Regions from separate parts of the Homo sapiens genome. Here region 1 is linked to region 2. The links are contacts of gene promoters, found by promoter capture Hi-C in human tissues and cell types (Jung and others, 2019). All regions are on one chromosome and are shown on one strand. Each heading gives the region's core, a stretch centred on a gene start or on the middle of the fragment in contact. The rest is flanking DNA. Distances are from core to core; before and after follow the strand shown. Region 1 has its middle 2.8 kb from the start of MIR3929. Region 2 holds the start of ZNF396 (zinc finger protein 396).

Region 1 (4,243 bases), core at 196-2,695, 560 kb after region 2:
GAAAAGCACATTACAAGTAAAGAAAACAGCAGTTTTCTTAGACTGTTTACTTTGCAATAAAGGAATACCTGAAACTGGGTAATTTATAAAGAACAGGGGTTTATTTGGCTCATGCTTCTGCAGCCTATACAGGAAGCATAGGGCCTCAGAAGCTTCCAATCATGGCAGCAGGTGAAGGGGAGCCAGTATATCACGTAGTGAGAGAGGGAGCAAGAGAGAGAAGGAAGTCTCAGGCTCTTTTAAATAACCAGATCTTGGGCGAATTGGTAGAGCAAGAACTCCCTCATTACTGCAAGGATGGCACCAGGCCACTCAAGAGGGATCCACCCCTGTGATGCAAACACCTCCCACTAGGCCCACCTCCAACATTGGGGTTGCCATTCCAACGTGAGATTTGTAGGGCACAAGTATCCAAACTATATCAATGTCCTCTGAGTGTGTGTGTGTGCACGCGTGAACTCATGGGGTTTCTTATTCTCATAAATTCTGGCAGTCCTCTATTAATTACTTACTTCAGACACAAATTATAACCAGATATGGGACAATATAGTTACTAGGGAAAAAAGTTTACTTTCTAAAAAGAATTGGCATATTCTTTGGTTAATTAAGAGGAGAAAGTATCCAGAACCCTTTTCCAGTTCTCTTTGCAGAAGCGTATAATTGCTTTAAGGGTCTTTCTGGCGAAAAGTGATTAGAGGATACATTCCGCCAAGCACCAGGCTGCTCCCTCGGCATGTCCCCCACTTCTGCTGATGCACTAACGTGTCTCAAATCAGTTGCCAATTGGCAGGTGAATCCTATAAAACTGCAAACCTCTGGTGGAGAAACATTATATAAAAGGAATGTAATTGCAGGAAGCTTTCCACCTGCCCCATTCTAGAGGCATCGCAAAGCAGATTTTGTCTAAAGGCTTACCAGAAAGTGAGAGGGCTCCAAAAGGACTTAGAAGGCCCATCAAGCACAACCTGGCATTGTTCATCCCTAATAATTATATGTGCAGAGTTTTATAGTAGCTCTTCTCCTAGTGGTTCTTTTCATCAGCCTTGTCAATGGAGTGAGAATAAACCTCCCTTCCTGTCTGCCACCCCACCCCACCCCCACTGTGAAGCACCTGGGTTTTGTGTGGGGTTGACTCCCCCGTGCATCCCAGCATCAGCCCGGGCCTGACCAGTCTAGCCCAATCAGGGCATCCCCCACTCCCCTTGCTGTGGTATTTTGTTCAGGGATGAACTCCTGCAGAGAGAGTATGTCTTCATCAGAGACAACTGGCAGGCCTGCCCTGCCGAGGAAAGCCAGCCTGAAGACAAAGCCCACACAGGGCAAGAGAAACTAAGAGAAGTTAAGACAGAACCAGAACCCTGATCAAACCACACCTGGAGCCCACCAAGCATTTGTGTCGCAAAAACTTAGTGAATCCCATCTAATGTTCAAACCTGTGCATTGGATTAGGTTTTTAGTACCCTGCACCCAAAACCTCCTCACTAAAATACTACATATCCTCTGAAATATTAAACAAAAGAGAATGGAAACTACCAACTACTCATGTAATGAGTTTTAGAAATCCTGGCCTTGAAAGATGTTGTGTTCAGGAACGACTATATAACCAACATAGGTTGTATATTTTCATGGGGCAATGACACCTCTAATAATTCACGCATCATTTTCTACTCACGCACTGCTTACTTCTATAAGGATTTCACATGGCTTACAACAAAATACCTATATATTAGGATAATAAAATAAGAGTTAATTATCCAGGGGAAAAGATGGATATATCAGAAAACATCAGTGAAGTATAACTCTTAGGTTGGAACATACAATTTAGCTCCGAGCATTCTGTCAGCCAAGGTTAAAATTATTACAGGTTGAGTATCCCTACTCTGGAAAGCTGAAATCTGAAATGCTCTAAAATCCAAAACTTTTTAAGTACCAACATGATGCTCAAAAGAGACGCTCATTGGAGCATTTCCAATTTTAGATTTTTTGACTTAGGGATGCTGAACAACTAAATGTAATGCAAATATTCCAAAATCTGAAAAATATTGAAATCTGCAACACTTCTGGTTTCAAGCATTTCAGATAAGGGATACTCAACTCAACCTGTATCTTACTATCTGAAAAAGAAAAATATCTATGTTTGCTGGGAGGTATGACGCTTTTTCCTAGCAGTAGTAAGTAAGCTCTAGAGCAGCTGTAGTCAGTTTGGGAAGTTTAGGCCCTTGAATGCTGACATTAGCTGAACCACTTTAGCTTATCTGTATTTAGAGCATCACCAAAAGTGTTGACATTAATCTATGTACTGGCAGTGTTAGAATGTTATCAGATTCTGGCAGAGAAATGTTTACATCAGCACTTGCAAGAAAGTAGGGCGGGGTGCAGTGAGTTTTTCAAGGAAGTACAATGTGATCCCAGCCCCACAGGGTTGTTGTCAGCAGCAGCAGGAGGGCACACTGAGGGCTTGAACTCTGCAGCCCCTCTGTACCCTGAGGACAAACAGGGTAGGGAGGTGGAGAAGCAGAGAGATGAAAAAGGAGGAGGGAAACCATGTGGGGGAGTCCTCAGAAGGGCAGCTAAGCTGCAAAACCCTAAAGTATGCAACTGGAAAGGGAAGGGGTACTTCATTGAGCATGTGCTGGCACAGAAGAGAAATACAGAAACACCGAGAAGTCTTGCCCACCTTAAAAGATAAAAGGGAGATTTGCACACAGTTTAAACAAGGAGAGCATTGTTGGATAACCATAGCTAATCTTTACTGATCACAACACTCCATAAGGTAAGCACTATTATTACCCCTGTTACACTGACAAGAAAAGTAATGTTTATGTGCCCAAAATCTCATGGCTAATCAGTGATGGAGCTAGGGACCTGATCCCAGGTAGTCCAGCTCCAAAGCCAGCTGCTCACTTCTGGTGACTATGACCATCCCATCTACCCTGCTCTGACTGGAGCTGCAACTGTGGGAGACAGTTTCATGTGAGCTGTGACAGCATCCCCAACCCCAGCTTGTGCTGTCTCACATAATCCCACTCTATGCAGCCCAGAAGTGCAAGATAGTGAACTGCCCCAGGTAGCCTTCAACCAATTGGCAATGGAAGCAAATGGAGAAATGCTCTAGGCTCCTGGCCTACAGCAGATGGTTCTGAGAGGCCTTCTGTGTGCTAACTCCAGGCCTGACAGAATCGAGCTCCACCAACTTTAGAGGTAACCTCTGCTTCCTCTCTACCCCATGCTCCCTTCTTTGGGAATCACATCCCAAATAAACTAGCTGAGACATCCTTGTCTCAGGCTCTGCAAGAAAGGAAACTTAAAGCAAGAGAAGGCATCTGCATTATAGGACATCAGAGATCAGAAAGGATCTCATCAAATTCTCAGCAGGTTCATATTTGATTGTTAAAGTCATTGACCACTGTCCTGCTCTGGAGAAAGAAGTTGCAGAGGAGGAAGAGGTTTTCAGGGAAATATTGGCTCAGGGCTCAGCCAAAGGCAAAAGATTTCAATGAACAAATATGTCTGACTGAGCTACATATTTTCTAAACAATGACTTGTCTATTTCAAAGTGAGTCATGACAAGAATCACTGGACCATGGAGTTCTTGGATAATGTGTGGTGTTCTCAGATAAATGTATTTCTTTCTCTCGGGTATTTATATAAAGCTGATAAAATGGGTTTGTTTACTGTTGCTTGCCAGTTTCCCTGTAAGTGGTGCACATGCCCTTGATTTTAAGCTGGAAAAAAGGGACACATTGATTCTTAGGGAATATTCTAATGCTATAGGTATCCACTAAAAAATTAAAAAACAAAAACAGAACCTTTGGTGCCTAGGGAAAAATCTAATCTTTTCCAGGCTCTCCAAGGTGTCACATTTTTACCAGCTCTTTGCAAAGTATAAGTCAATGCATGGCTGAGAAAGAGACTTTCATGATTGCATTATATTTATGCAAATGTATCTAATGGTTATTACAGACCTAGGGGTTTGCCTGAGGACAGCAAATGACTCAACTGCTGCATATGTGGGGCTCCTCTTGAGCAAGGGAAGAGTCCAAGGTTAGTGTTATCCTTTTTGTATCCATCACTCTTACCTCCGAGATTCAACTTATGGACCAAGACATTTTTCAGAAAATAAAGTGCTATTAGAGAATTTCATTTTATGAAACATTTCATGAGAAAATTTTCCAGGAAGGGAAGGCTAGTTACCTCAGTCACAAGAGGGCAAGCTGCTTCCACTGGCACTGGTGTTTCTGAG
Region 2 (4,115 bases), core at 459-2,958:
GATTTCTTCAAGTATTATTAGCTCGTTAGCAACAAAGTTGGGGGGGGACGGCACTTTCCTTTGTATCATTTTACTGTTAAGTATCACCAGTAACTAATCTCATTTTGTTGTTGTTGTTGTTTTGTTTTGTTTGAGACAGAGTCTGGCCCTGTTGCCCAGGCTGGAGTACAATGGCGGGATCTTGGCTCACTGCAACCTCTGCCTTCTGGGTTCAAGCGATTCTCCTGCCTCAGCCTCCCAAGTAGCTGGGATTGCAGACGTGTACCACCACGCCCGGCTAATTTTTATAATTTTAGTAGAGACGGGGTTTCACCATGTTGGCCAGGCTGGTCTCGAACTCCTGACCTCAGGTGATCCCTCTGCCTCGGCCTCCCAAAATGCTGGGAGTACAGGCGTGAGGCTCTGCACCCGGTCTAATCATATTTTTTAAATTGGGCAGGAGGTATATGATAGTGTTTGTACAACTTCAGCAAATGATGACTACTTTAAAAATCTTACGTGCGCCTCCGTCTTCCATCGTTATGTATCCTGCCATTTGACTTATTTTCTCACTTCACCAAGTATTGTTCTAGGCCCTGTATAAAGCCTGTGAGTTCATAAAGTTGTTACCAAATAAATGATACAACTTTACACAATGATGTGCTATGAAACAAACAATAGCAGACACACATATTAACAGAATTTACTATGTGCCAAGCACTGTTTTGAACACCTTAGTAAAAATAAACAAAGGTTAAATCCTCATAAAAGCCCTAGATTATTTTTACCCCCATGTTGTAGACGGGGAAGCAGTCACAGCAAAGCCAGGTACTCTGGCCAAGGGCAAAGCTGGGGTCTGAACCCAGGCCGTCCACATTTATCCATGGTGCTGTGTGGTTAGAGGCCATAGGCAGCAGGGGCCCTTGTGGTGACCCCTGCGCGTTGTCTCAGCGCAGAGGAGGAAGTGGCGGCAGGCAGCCGCGCTCCCAGATGAAGCGGGGCCAGAAGAGTCTGGGGAACAAGACCTGAGAGGTGGGAAGGGTTGAGGCCACCGGTTTGGAGCCGTCAGGTACCCTAAGGGATATATGAGGGACCCCGGGGCTAAAGCAGCCTCTGGAAGAGAGTGGCCGCCCTGTCACTTCAGCACCAGGCGCAGAATCTGTGCTAAACCTGAGGTGAGGGTAAGGAACCCCCGACACCGCACGACAACCAGAAAGAACGTCCCTGGAGGGGAGGCTTCGATCAAAGCCTGGGACGCAGGGGTCTTTCTGCAGGGGACGCCGCTCTCGGCTCTACCCTGCTGTGGTGGGCCGGCTCTGGGAGGGCTGGCTTCCGACCATCTCCCGACCTCCCGCGCCCACCGCGCCGCGCCGCGCGCCTCCCAGGCTGGGAACCGCCGGGGCGAAGCGGCAGGTGGCGCGGGTTCACCTGGCAGGGCAGGCGCCCGGGGTCCGCCGGGGAAGGACGAGGGGAAGGGGTGCGCGGACTCAGGGGCAGGCAGCGGAGGGGAGGGGCCTGGGGATCTGGGACGGTGTAAGGGTGCTGCACTTGCGCGCGAAGGGAGGGGTGGCGACGAGTCCGCGGCCGCCTCTCCGCGTCCCCCTTCCACCACCCGGGGACCACCGCCTCTGACCGCAGCCTGGGGGCCCTAAAGAGGCCTCGGGTCTCACCTCCCGACGCCGTCGGGGAGAAACCGGGGAACTGCCAGCTGCGCAACAACTTCCGGTTCTGGTGGCGGGTCGGGGCGGGGCCCGGAACGCGGGGACGTTGCCATGGAGAAGAGCCGCTGTGGCCGCGCACTTGGGACAGGGAAAGAGAACCGGGAGGCTCGACCGGTGGGAATCCAGCTGCTCTGCTCAGTGTTCCGTTCAATAAACTAGCATTGTTGCTTCGCAAAGTGCTTTTGCTTACATTATTCATTTACTCCGGTAACTCAGTAAGGTTATTCCCATTTTACAGAAAATAAACTCAAATGTCCTGTGACTTGCCAAGGATTACAGAGAGGGGCGAATGCTGTGCTGTCTACCGCTGAGTACAATCCCTAATACCATTCCCACTCCCGAAGTGGTTACACCCCAAGTACTGACGTTTTAAGGGACAAGTTTGACATCCGCAACCCCATGCTTTCACAGGAGAACACAATGGCCCTTGAAAAAGTGAGAACTGACCCACATAAAATTTGTTACAATACATACACATATCTCTCCTCAGATAATCTTAATCTCAATTGAAAAATAAGTTTGAGGCCGGGCGCGGTGGCTCATGCCTGTAATCCCAGCACTTTGGGAGGTCGAGATGGGCAGATCACATGAGCCAAGGAGTTCGAGACCAGCCTGGCCAACATGGCTAAACCGCATCTCTACAAAACATACAGAAATTAGCCGAGTGTAGAGACGCATGCCTGTAGTCCCCGCTTCTTGGGAGGCTGAGGGGTGAGGATCACCTCAATCTGGGGAGGTGGAGACTGCAGTTAGCCATGATTGCGCCACTGCCCTCCAGCCTGGGCTGCAAAGTGAGAGCGTCTCAAAAAATAAATAAATAAATAAATTTAAGCCTAAATGCACCACAGCCCCACCTCGTGACTTCCTTCTCTAGCCCCTTTCCCTAGGGACTCCTGGAAAATGTACTTGTACTCGTAACTGAGGAATTAGGGAGAGGACGGAGATGCTTGAAAAGCACTTGCTAATTAATAAAGAACAATAACAAAAAATCCCTTTTGGTATGACGCCGCCCCAAAAGTATGTTAGTACTGGAATCTGAAGTGAAGAAAGAAGAGGCTGGTTTACTCAGTTTATGACGCTAGGGGACTAGGGAGAGGTTTGGATCCCAATTAGAGTACAGTAAAACTAAATCTGAAGAAATTCTTGCTTCAAACAAGGGGCTTTCACAGGATAAGACTTTTTGCTGATGCAGCTGCCAACACAAATAGCAAACAGCCCAAAAGTGCAGGTGGGAATGTGTTTCTGGCGCTGGTGGGTAGGGTAGGTTAAATGACTCACGTCAGGGGAGAATTTGAAACGAGGGCAAGGCTTGGCAGTGGTGTGAAGTCACAGGAGACAATTTAAGGAGAATATGAACGACAGTCAGAAGCTTCAAGGAGAAGGAGGAACTGTGGGATGTGGCAAGAGGTCAGGGATGATGAATTCATGGGTATGGTCCACCAAACAGCCAGATATCAGAGGCCAAAGTTAAAAACAGCAACAACAAAAAAGGGAGCAGACATAAAAGATTGATTAGAAAAGTTTCACAGTCAGGTAGTTAGAGCAAGAACAGGTTTTTGTTTGCTGTTTTAATTTTTTAAAAATTTTGGGGGTAAAGTGAAAAGAAATTAGCAGGAATAAGGTCCCAGTAGGGTGAGCACCTACTATATACCAGTTGTATCGTAAACACCGGGAATTCAATGGTAAAATATAGATTCTTGCCCTTTAGGGGCTAATAGACTAAGTAAAGAGAAAGATGAATAAATTGACTTTTCTAAACAATGTGGCAACATTCTGATGGAGACAACTGCAGGATACTATAAAAGCACAAAGAAAGGGAGGTCCTGGGTAGAGACTGGGATTGGAGTTGATGGAGAAAGCTGGTGTTGATACATTTGAGACTGAGGTACCAGTGTGGGATGTTGTTTAGATTTGCTGGATTAAAGGACAGCAGGATGAGTGGCTGAGGATGAGGCTGAAGAGGCAAACAGCAGCCTAGTTTTAAAGGGTTTGACAGGCCAAGTAAAGGGCTATGAACTAAGGTTTTAAGCAGAAACTTGAATTAGTGGCATGTGCACATCTGCAATTCAGGTAGGGCTCTCTGATAGCAACACGAAGGATAGATCTGAAGGGAGGCAAAACTCAAGACAGGGTTACCAGCTCTGAAGCTGTTGCAAAGATCCAGGCTGCAGCTGGTGAAGGTCTGAACTAGCACAGAGGGGACGAGAATGGAGGCAGATTCTGGAAACACTTGGGAGGCTGGTGCTTGCTTAGATGGAAGACTGACAGATGATTGGGTACATAATGTGTCATTCAGGGAAGTTAAACAACAGAGTATGTTTGACAATGGCTTATGTGGATATTTGAGGGGATTTTTGGGTAGACTGGATCAGAAGCTGAATGGGATGCTATCATCAATAACTGCACATAATTGGA

What was found. Contacts are between HindIII fragments. The study calls those that stand out against the background at their distance.
Region 1: a fragment that was not itself captured here is called in contact with the fragment with the promoter of ZNF396 in region 2 in 1 of the 25 tissues and cell types used here (dorsolateral prefrontal cortex).

The regions. Positions count from the first base shown.
Region 1 is chr18:35,934,787-35,939,029 of GRCh38, forward strand. No RefSeq gene overlaps it. Among named protein-coding and RNA genes, the nearest start is that of MIR3929, 2.8 kb to the left of the region's middle. The HindIII fragment of the contact is 7,355 bases long and covers 1-4,243 here.
Region 2 is chr18:35,375,629-35,379,743 of GRCh38, forward strand. It overlaps ZNF396 (zinc finger protein 396), which reads right to left and starts at 1,709. Exons shown (of 4, transcript NM_001322286.2): 1 at 1,650-1,709. RefSeq lists silencers at 1,225-1,414, 1,425-1,494. The HindIII fragment of the contact is 8,301 bases long and covers 1-3,697 here.